2 separate regions of the Homo sapiens genome follow, and region 2 is linked to region 1. Evidence: promoter capture Hi-C in 16 types of primary human blood cells and fetal thymus (Javierre and others, 2016). All regions are on one chromosome and are shown on one strand. The core of a region is centred on a gene start or on the middle of the fragment in contact, and the rest is flanking DNA. Distances in the headings are between cores, read along the strand shown. Region 1 holds the start of TYRO3 (TYRO3 protein tyrosine kinase). Region 2 overlaps MGA (MAX dimerization protein MGA).

Region 1 (5,162 bases), core at 715-3,214:
TTTGCTGAGAACGAAACCAATGAGGTCAATTTTAGAGAGATACCTTCACATGTGCTATCGAAAGTATGCATGTATTTTACCTACAAGGTTCGCTACACTAACAGCTCCATCGAGATTCCTGAATTCCCAATTGCACCTGAAATTGTACTAGAACTGCTGATGGCTGCGAACTTCCTAGATTGTTAAATAAAATAAATTATAATAAACTGTTAACTCTTTTCAGTATGTAATACCTGTAGATCAGTTAGTAACTTTTTCATATATAGCATGTTGCCTGTATGCAGTTTAACTATATAAAGTTCATTGCAAAGCAGATTATCTTGTTTTTTTCATAGCAATCAAAGTTGAAATTTGTTTGCTACATCAACAAATTAAGAACATTTTCACAAACTGAGAAATAAACAAATATGCCAATTAAAAAAAAAAAAAGAAAGAAACAGAGACAGAGATATCTGGCCCCTGCCATCCATGTCTTGACAGTGCCTCATGAGTCTCTCCTCCTGCTGCCGCCTGGGGGCGCCCCCAGCTGGGTCTCAGGCTGCTGCCAGCACTGCTGTTGTTATCATTAGGGTAATTAATAAACAAGCACTGCTGGGGCCAAGTGGAAGAAGAGGCAGGCCCCTGCTGCTCAGGAGAATCCCTGAAAAGATCCAGTGAGCCTGCGGCAACCGGAGCTGAGTGGCTGGTCCCTCCTCTCTACCCAGGACCTCTGGAAGGGGTGTGGGGTGGGCTTCCCCCTGGAGGGAAGGGCAAGGGGAGGAGCACACTTGGTAGGCTTGGTTTGGAACCAGCTCTGCATGTGCCTAACAGGATGTCTGTGGGCAAGGCCACCCTCGTGATTACTGGTTGTGGGGCAGGCTCTGAAGCAATTATTCATTCATTTAACAGGCATCTGCCTATTTATTTATGGAAAGCCTACTGTGTGCAAGGTGGTCTACTAATAATAGCTAATGTTTGACTGGACAGTGTGACGACACAGCCAACTTTCACACCAGGTCCTGGGAAAAGGGGTAGAAGCAGGGGAAGCAACCAGGAAAAATGACAGCCCAAAAAGATACGGGCAATTAGGCTTTGGCCTGTGTAGTGTAGTGGTGGGGATATATATTAGGTAAAACCTGGGGATTACCAAGATCTTGGGAAACTCAGGACCCAAGTTGGAAAACATACGGCAATTGGGGCTGGAGAAAATGGGCATTTTTCAGGTGGGAGGGACTTGGAGATAAAGGCATGGCAATAGGACATGAATATGGGGATTTTGGGTGAATGGCTCAATGAAAGGGAGGCACGAAGGGATGCTAGCCGATCCTGTTGGGGGAGCCCCGGGTCACGGCAGTTTCGGGGAGCCAGATGGATGGGAGTGTCTAGGGGTTGAGGTGCTCTAAGTCCTGAGAGGGGGATGCTGGATTCTGGGATCAGAGTCCGAACAAGAGTTGGGGTGTGGTGGGGGCTGACAGCGGGGTTTTGAGGGAAGGCTCTGGAGGGCTGGGTTAGAAAAGATGCCGGAGCGGGTTTAGGGAAAGGAGGGGCGTGGCCGGGGAGCCCATCCTGGAGGCCAAGCCGGATCCTCAGGTTTGGCCAGGGGGCGGCTGGGGCCGGCGTGCCGGCGGGGCGCCGGCGGGGCCGCGGGGGTTTGCGGCGCTGGCTGGGATTCGCGCTCCGAGCCAGTCGCCGGGGCTCCGCGGGGGGGCGGTGCGAGCTCGGGCTGCGGGCGGGCCGGGAGGAGGCGGCGGCTCCGAGAAGAACATGAATCAGCGGCGGCGACGGCGGCGACGGCAGTGGAAGGAGCGCGGTGGCGCGGGAGCGGCCCCGGGGACCCCGCGCTGCTGACGGCGGCGACCGCGGCCGGAGGCGGGCGCGGGTCTCGGAGGCGGTCGCCTCAGCACCGCCCCACGGGCGGCCCCAGCCCCTCCCGCAGCCCTCCTCCCTCCCGCTCCCTTCCCGCCGCCTCCTCCCCGCCCTCCTCCCTCCTCGCTCGCGGGCCGGGCCCGGCATGGTGCGGCGTCGCCGCCGATGGCGCTGAGGCGGAGCATGGGGCGGCCGGGGCTCCCGCCGCTGCCGCTGCCGCCGCCACCGCGGCTCGGGCTGCTGCTGGCGGCTCTGGCTTCTCTGCTGCTCCCGGAGTCCGCCGCCGCAGGTAGGGGCTGGCACGGGAGGCGGCGGGAAGCGGGGGGCTGCGGAGGGGCGCGGCCGGGGGTCGGAGCCCGGGGCGGGCCTGGCGGGCTGGAGTCGGGGTGGGGGTCCGGAGCCGAAGGCCGAGGCTCGGAGCCGGGACAGGGCACGCTGCGGAGTGCTCGCCGCCAGATCTCCGGCCGGGCCCCCACCCCCAACTTTCTGGCGCTCGGGGCTCTTCTGGCGGGGTGGAAGAGAAGGGAGCGGGGTGTGGGCTGTGTGGTCAGCGGGGAGTGTTTGGGACTGCATTTTCCCGCCTCGATGTTCCCAGCTGTTAGCTCCCTCCTTCCCAGTACTGGGGACCCCATTCTGCCTGCCCCGCACGCGAAGGTCCGCCTCGGAAACCACACGGGCCGGGGCTGGGCACCCAAAGGCCACCCTGATACCATTTAGGTACACAGGGGCTGTGAGGGTGCCCAGTCACAAAAAACAAATGGGCACACTCGAGTTCCTGTGCCCTCAGAGCTTCCTGAAAGCAGAACCTTGGAGAGGATGGGCTGGTGCCAGGTTGCTGGTCTTTGGGAGGGGTTAGTCTTGTGTTCCCACATAGCCACTGAGGCATTTGCTGGTGACAAGAGCGTTCCATGCAGCACGGTGCTCTCCAAGTTCCCACCCCGCACCTCGGGGACTGATGGGCATATAGGGAGCGGGAGGCTGGCCCCCATCCTGTGACTGGTCCTGAGAGGGTGAAGGGAGCAGGGAAGAGCCACAGGCCAGGACAGCGGCCACCCGCTGGCATCTTCTCTTGAGACAGCATTCCTTGCCATATCAGCCTCTCAGGGAAGGGAAGGGAAACGGGGTGACGAGTATTTACAAGCCGAAAGGTGCGGACCTGATGCTCAGGGAGCCCACGACTTTGCCTAGAGTCACACAGCAAAGGGTGAGAAGAAGCAGGGCTGGATTTCAGTTATGTGGATACTTGACCTGCCCCTCTCTCTGCTTAAAAACATGCCAGGAGGCCAGGAGAGGTGCGTGTATGTGTGTGTGTGTGTGTGTGTGTGTGTGTGTGTGTGCGCGCGCGCGCGCGCGCTCGCACGCAAGTTCCAAAGAGTGGCCCCTGTTAATGTGGCAGTGGCTCAGGGGTCTTAGGCTCCCTGCTCAGGGCCCCAGCCCTCCCTTCTGCCTCCCACCTTCCTAGCACTCGCCCCTGCCCACATTCAGGTATTAATAGAGTGGATGGCTGCCAGGAAGGCTGCCATGTGTTTGATCTGACGTGGTTTTGCAGCCATATGTTCTCCACTTCAGGGGAGCACCCCCTCCTTTCCTTCTTCAGCCCTGCTCCATTTGGTAAGGTTGGGTGCAGAGGGTGCTGGCAGCAATTCAGGGTCTGGGCTGACACCTTGGGTGGAGAGCTGGCAGCCTGTTGCACTAGTTGGGTGCAGCAGTCATTCCTAGAGCAGTGCCTGCCCCAGTAGGGTAACTCCCATCGTTTCAGCCCAGCCTGCCTTCCTTTTGCTGTCTGGGCTCAGAAGGAGGACATGGGGAAGAGGTCCTTAGAGCCGGAGGGAACTTGGAGAGCTTGCCATGCCCCTTCCCTTCGCCCAGGTCCAGCGACCTTCCCTTCCACACTGTCCTACCTCTGCTTCCTTGACTTTGGCTGAGAAAGAGCCCTCTGTCTGACACAGAAGCTACCTTCTAGAAGAGAATGGGAACTGTTTACAGAGACAGAGTCCCTCTCAAGGCTGACACATGTTCCTTCCCACCCCTCAGGTCTGAAGCTCATGGGAGCCCCGGTGAAGCTGACAGTGTCTCAGGGGCAGCCGGTGAAGCTCAACTGCAGTGTGGAGGGGATGGAGGAGCCTGACATCCAGTGGGTGAAGGATGGGGCTGTGGTCCAGAACTTGGACCAGTTGTACATCCCAGTCAGCGAGCAGCACTGGATCGGCTTCCTCAGGTGCAGGCCTGTGGGGGAAGGTGTGGGCTGCCAGCCAGGGGGCAGGCTATGCTCTTTCCTTGGGGATTGGGAGCTGGGGCCCTCTCCTGATGCCCAGAGGTCTGTGGTTTTTTTATTTGGCTACCTGTGGGACCTTCCAGAAGTGGGGGCAGGCTGAACTCATCAAGTTTGCCCAGCAGAGCTGCCGCCCTTGCCCTCGGAAGCAAGCCTCGTATCCTGTTTCCACAGCCTGAAGTCAGTGGAGCGCTCTGACGCCGGCCGGTACTGGTGCCAGGTGGAGGATGGGGGTGAAACCGAGATCTCCCAGCCAGTGTGGCTCACGGTAGAAGGTGAGGAGGCAGAGCCATATGGGCGTGTTGGCCTGGAGCACGTGCTGTCTGCTGGTGACTATACCTCTGCAGCGGAGAACTCAGTAGAAGCTGGGCTGCCCCACTGCTCTGTGGGGCCTGGTTGTCCAGGCTGTAGGCCCACTCCAGATGTCGGAAGACCCTACCAGTTGGAGTTGGGTATCTGAGAACCAAGGGACCAACTGGGATCCACAACCTGTGGGGTGCAGTCTGTTTCCGTTGCTTGAGCAACAAGCTTCAAGCATCCATCTGGGACTGGACCCTGTTCTGCCAAGTGGCCTGGCCAGCAGGGGGAGGGGAGGAAGGCTCTGCAGCTGCGGGAGCTCAGAGCTGTTCAGCCCAGGAAAACAAAGTGACTAAGAAAGTAACAAAGGGCCCTGAATGGGAGCTGGGGCCTGGCAGCAGAACTCTGCTAAAGCTCTCACCCACTCCCCTGAGTTTTATGCCCCTCTCCCAGCTCTCCACCCCCAGTCTCCTCTCTTACTGCAAGAAGAGCTGTCCAAATCTGCCATGCCTAAGGGGGCAGCATGGAAGATGTGTCTAAGGTGCCAGGCATGGTGGCGTGTGCCTGTAGTCCCAGCTACTCCGGAGGCTAAGGCCAGAGGATCACTTGAGCCCCCAGGAGTTCCAGGCCAGCCTGGGCAACATAGAGAGACCTCCCCGCGACCAATCTCAAAAAAAAAAAAAAAAAAAAAAAATTCCTAAGGAGCCTGAAAAAGAGAAGCACCGCCTACCTCTCAAGCTAGATGCCT
Region 2 (5,729 bases), core at 629-3,128, 180 kb after region 1:
ATGCTGTGATGCAGAAATAATCTTTCAACTTTTTCTTTTTTATTATTATTTTACATCAGAAAAGAGCTGGAAGTCTTCCTGCAATGAAGGAGAATCCTCTTCTACTTCTTATATGCATCAGAGGTCACCTGGTGGTCCCACCAAACTGATTGAGATCATCTCAGACTGCAACTGGGAGGAAGATCGGAACAAGATTTTGAGCATCTTATCCCAGCACATCAATAGCAACATGCCACAATCACTTAAGGTGGGCAGCTTCATCATTGAGTTGGCTTCTCAGCGAAAGAGCCGGGGTGAGAAGAACCCTCCTGTTTATTCTTCTCGTGTGAAAATCTCTATGCCATCATGTCAAGACCAAGATGATATGGCTGAGAAATCTGGATCAGAGACTCCTGATGGTCCATTGTCCCCTGGGAAAATGGAGGATATCTCTCCTGTGCAGACAGATGCCCTGGATTCAGTGAGGGAGAGATTACATGGAGGCAAAGGTCTGCCTTTTTATGCAGGGCTTTCTCCTGCAGGGAAGCTTGTGGCCTATAAACGTAAACCCAGTTCAAGTACATCTGGGCTTATCCAGGTGAGAATTATCTTTAATCTGGGTATAGCACCTTTGTATACACCTAGGTAGTATCATGATTTTTCAGAGCCCTTTATGGTCCTGATATCCTTTATCTTGACATTTCCTGGGAACTGGGTGACAAAATTATTATCTCTTTTTGTAATAGGCCTAGTTTAGATGCATACCTAGAGTGAATTTTTGTCACATTTATGAACAGAAACGTAGAGCCTTGTATTAGTTTTAATTTTCTTTCTAATCTTCCCAGAAAGTTGCTCTTCATAAACTTTATTGCCTGCAGGCTCTAGTGATACTTTGACAATAAAGCAAGGGTAATCAGGGATTCAGTCTAGCTCTTGGAATTTATTATTAGCAGATAGGTTTCAAAACAAAACCATGGTTAGAACGGTAGGTGTAAGGGGAAGATGAAATTGACTTAAAGATAGGCAATATATGTTTAGAAACTTGGGGAAAATTTTAAAAATTTTTATTTATTATTTATTTATTGCAATCTTGGCTCACAGCAACCTCTGCCTCCTGGGTTCAAGCAATTCTTTGTGCCTCAGCCTCCCAAGTAGCTGGGATTACAGGCATGTGACACCACACCTGGCTAATTTTGTGTTTGTGTGTGTTTTTTTTTGTTTTTGTTTTTTTTTTAGTAGAGACGGGGTTTCGCCATGTTGTCCAGGCTGGTCTCGAACTTCTGAGCTCAGGTGATCCACCCACCTTGGCCTCCCAAAGTGCTAGGATTACAGGGGTGAGCCACCATGCATGGCTGAAAATTTTAATTTAGTAAGGTGTTATTTAAATACAAGAGTAAAAATTCAGCCATATTTACTTAATTATATTTTTTCTTTATTTGATTCGTAGGGGTTTTGTTAGTGTAACTGTTGTAGGACAAATACCTTTATCCTTGATACTTAGTAATTCACGCAGGTTGTATTAGTAAAATTATACTGGCATATAGAAAATTTGAAAAGAGACGTTCTGAATTAATGTCATAGTCAGAAAAGGTTTTTCTAGCTGAGCGCAGTGGCTTACGCCTGTAATCCCAGCACTTTGGGAGGCCGAGGTGGTGGATCACCTAAGGCAAGGAGTTTGAGACTAGCCTGGCCGACATGGCAAAACCCCATTTCTACTAAAAATAAAAAAGTTAGCCCGGCGTGGTGGCGCGCGCCTGTAATCCCAGCTTCTTGAGAGGCTGAGGCAGGAGAATCATTTGAACCTGGGAGGTGGAGGTTGCAGTGAGCTGAGATTGTGCCACTGTATTCCAGCTTGGGCAACAGAGGGAGATTGTCTCAAAAAAAAAAAAGTGCACTTTTATATTAGAGTAGCAAATGTGTGGAAGTGTCTGATATTATTGCAAAGTTAGCTTGACTTTCATTAGATTGGCTGCTTCTAAGTCACTAAGGACTTCTCCATTAATAATATGATTGATATAGGCTGGGCATGGTGGCTCACACCTGTAATACCAGCACTTTGGGAGGTGAAGGCGGGTAGATCATGAGGTCAGGAGTTCAAGACCAGCCTGACCAACATGGTGAAACCCCATCTCTACTAAAAATACAAAAATTAGCCGGGCATGGTGGCGTGTGCCTGTAATCCCAGCTAGGAGGCTGAGGCAGGAGAATCGCCTGAACCTGGGAGGCAGAGGTTGCAGTGAGCCGAGATCACGCCACTGCATTCCAGCCTGGGCGACAGAGTGAGACTCCATCTCAAAAGAGAAAATAATATTAATATGATTGATCTACTTAATTAAAAAACTTATTATTGCAGTTTACTGTTGTGCATGCTATGTAAATGCTTCTGTTGATATTTCTTATACTCTTGATGAGGAGAACAGTATTTTCTCTACCTTATATATTGATTGACACTTTGAAAACAGAGGTTTGCCTGATACAATTTCTAGTGAGACTAGACTCCCTAAAATACAAGCATGGAAATTTTTTGTTGTCTTCTGCCCAGGACTCACAAAGCCACCATAGAATGTGTCTGCATAAGCAGTCAGGCAACTGTAAACTTTGTAAACTTTGGGGAAGCTGCAGAGTAGGCTTCAGCGCAGTCCCAAGGGATCCGGGAGGGGGTATCTGACCTATTTCTGTATAGCCTGAAAAGTTACAGTAAAGTCTACTTTCAGGGGGAATGATCACATTCTTTGTACCAAACTCAAGGCAGAGATATTCTTGATCTCTGTGGGAATAATCACAATTTAACCAAAGTAGCAAAGAGTAATTTTGTTTTGTGTCTCTGAAGATGGAGTTGCTTGCTGTAGCTGGTCTCCTCACCAGTTCCCTGTTAGAGAGTAGATTCTACCTCACTCCATCTCCCCCAACCCCCGATTTTGAAATGGTGAAAAGGAAATATAGAAAAGGTTATCTTCTCTAGAGTTGCCTGGCAATATGACCTAGAGAACATGGGTAGAGACTTGGGAAGTTTTTGTTTTCTTTCTTTAAAAAAAAAAGAAAAGAAATCAACCCCCACAAAAAACAACTGTGCTGGTACCCATGATGGGCAGTCTGATAAACTCAGGCAGCAGAGGGGATCTTTACTTCATTTGTTGGTTCACTTTCTTCTGACTATTTAGTTAATTATGTCTAGAATAAGAATGAGTTCGTACCAACATTCAGTTTGAACCCATGTTTTATCCAAGAGATGAAAATAGTATTTTCAAAGCTAAGCTTTTTGAAAATGAAAAACTGTGAGGTAATTGTGGCTTAGGTTATTGCAACAATGATTGTCTTATAACTTAAAGTAGATTTCACTTATATTTTTCAAATATGAAGGATGCTTGAAAGGACCCTTGTGTGAGAGCTTCATTATGTCTCTCTGGTCTTATCAGAGAGATTCTGTGGGACACTCATTTTTGCTGATGAGGTTAATAGCTTAACCAGAATGCCTTATTTACAAGGAAAACAATTGGATAATTCTAGTTGTTTAGATTTGATGATAACTTTCACATAACTAGGATGCAGAAATGATGAGTTTCCGATTCTCTATTTTCAAACTACAATATGAAGGAGATGAGATTAGTTCAGAATATCAGTTGACAGCATTTTTCTACCTTCTGATTACTCAGATTATTCTAAATGGAAAAAGTCTACTTCTTTTTCCCTTTTAAATCTGAAAAATAGACTTATGAAAACTTGTAAAAATGAAGCCCCTGTCAAGGGAGAGGAGTTAGCAAGAGAATTTTATCTTTACAGAATTTCTCTTTGCCACTTGTTTCAGGTTAATGGTAAGAGTTACCCGCAGGCTAAGTTGCTATTGGGACAGATGGGGGCATTGCATCCAGCCAATAGGCTAGCTGCTTATATCACAGGCAGGTTGCGACCCTCAGTCCTGGACCTCTCAACCCTCAGTACTGTCATCTCCAAGGTAGCATCCAATGCCAAGGTGGCTGCATCCAGGAAACCACGTACCCTGTTGCCTTCAACATCCAATTCCAAAATGGCATCCTCCTCTGGCACTGCAACAAATCGCCCTGGGAAGAATCTGAAGGCGTTTGTCCCAGCAAAACGGCCAATTGGTAAGTTGGGGTGTATGTATGGTTTGGAAAGGCCTATGACTTGGTGGTGGGACAGTGGGTACAGGTATGGAGGTTGTAAAAATTAGAGAAATATGTACTTTGGCATTATTCTTATTCTTGTTGTCTGTCTTGCCTGGACTTTTTTGATTGTTTGGGGTTAACGTCTGATAACCTGCAATATTAGATGAATTGAGTTGTTTTATAGTTAATTTCTTGGTTTTATATATATTTTTTATTTTTTAATAACACTGACTTGAAGGCAAGTTTTATAGTTATTTTTAAGGTTTTCAGACTGGTTGTTATTAATGTAGAAAAGACTTAAGGATTTTAATTTTGTTTCTAAAAAGGGAAGACATTTAAAAATAGTTTACTATTATACTAAATTATTTACTAAAATATTTTACTAAATTAAAAATAGTTTACTATTTTCCTGTGAGGACTGGTGTTTCTGGCCTCTTGTTGAACTCTTGCTGGTGCTATGTAAATGCTTCTGTTGATACTTCTTAAACTTATGAAACCAAGGAGCTAGCAAAAGCTAGTGGTGTAAGTAGTATAGGCTTAAAGTGGAAAGCTCCTATAAATACAATTTTGAAAGTGTTGATTTATTCCATTCATCTCTGTTCTATGAATGAAAATCTCTCTTTTCCTTAACATTTAAATGCTGAAGTCTGTAATAAATTACCTTCTTGAAACATTTGTGTTTTAGCATTGAGAGTATCTATAGTTGGTTTATTGAATTCCTCTTTTTGTTGTTTCAAATCTGTTAGGAATGTTAGGTAAGAGTGTCAGTTGAAATCTCTGGCTGAATGGTTAGAGTTGTGTGAAGATAGAAGATATTTATTGTTTGCCTTAAAACCTATTTTGGCCGGGCGCGGTGGCTCACTCCTGTAATTCCAGCACTTTGGGAGGCCGAGGCGGGTGGATCACGAGGTCAAGAGATAGAGACCATCCTGGCCAACATGGTGAAACCCCATCTCTACTAAAAATACAAAAATTAGCCGGGAGTGGTGGCATGCGCCTGTAGTCCCAGCTACTGGGGAGGCTGAGGCAGGAGAATCACTTGAACCCGGGAGGCAGAGGTTGCAGTAATCCGAAATCGTGCCACTGCACTCCAGCCTGGTGACAGAGTGAGACTCCATCTCCAAAAAAAAAAAAAAAAAAAAAAGAATCTATTTTACCTTTTATTAAGGCAGCTTCAGTTGTGATTAAGGGGAGTAAAAAAAGCAATCCTATCCTGATCTGTTTGGAGAAATGTCTTTATATATTTTAGGAATATGTAATACGTAAGCATCTCATAATAGCACAGCTGTAAAGAGGTGAGAGTGCTCAGACAGGAGGAAATGGTAGAAACAAGTTTTTACATTAGAAATTGGGGGAAACAAACCCTCTCATTTTCTTTTATCTGTATTAGGTGATGAAGTTTTTGCTACTGTATTGTCTTTTTAGTATCCTGACAGTTTGAATATATTGCACAGTCAAAAGAATTTTAGTAGGAACACTCTATTTAATTTTTTAATTTTTCTTTCAAGACAGAGTCTTGCTCTGTCTCCCAGGCTGGAGTGCAGTGGCACTATCTCATTTCACTGCAGCATCCACCTCCTGGGTTCAAACCATTCTCCTGCCTCAGCCTCCTGAGTAGCTGGGATT

Evidence for each region. Contacts are between HindIII fragments. The CHiCAGO score rates a contact against its expected background, and 5 or more counts as called.
Region 2: a fragment that was not itself captured here is called in contact with the fragment with the promoter of TYRO3 in region 1 in 1 of 17 cell types (M1 macrophages); the score reaches 5.5 in M1 macrophages.

What each region holds. Positions count from the first base shown.
Region 1 is chr15:41,557,248-41,562,409 of GRCh38, forward strand. TYRO3 (TYRO3 protein tyrosine kinase) reads left to right here and starts at 1,965. Exons shown (of 19, transcript NM_006293.4): 1 at 1,965-2,134; 2 at 3,880-4,063; 3 at 4,292-4,392. The coding sequence starts at 2,011. It also overlaps the pseudogene ELOCP2. RefSeq lists enhancers at 1,384-1,885, 2,452-3,093, 5,126-5,162 and silencers at 1,614-1,703, 1,649-1,815, 1,754-1,893, 1,904-2,073, 2,380-2,580. The HindIII fragment of the contact is 16,850 bases long and covers 1-4,643 here.
Region 2 is chr15:41,736,122-41,741,850 of GRCh38, forward strand. MGA (MAX dimerization protein MGA) reads left to right here. Exons shown (of 24, transcript NM_001400225.1): 13 at 60-577; 14 at 3,785-4,082. Among named protein-coding and RNA genes, the nearest start is that of MAPKBP1, 35 kb to the right of the region's middle. The HindIII fragment of the contact is 2,708 bases long and covers 525-3,232 here.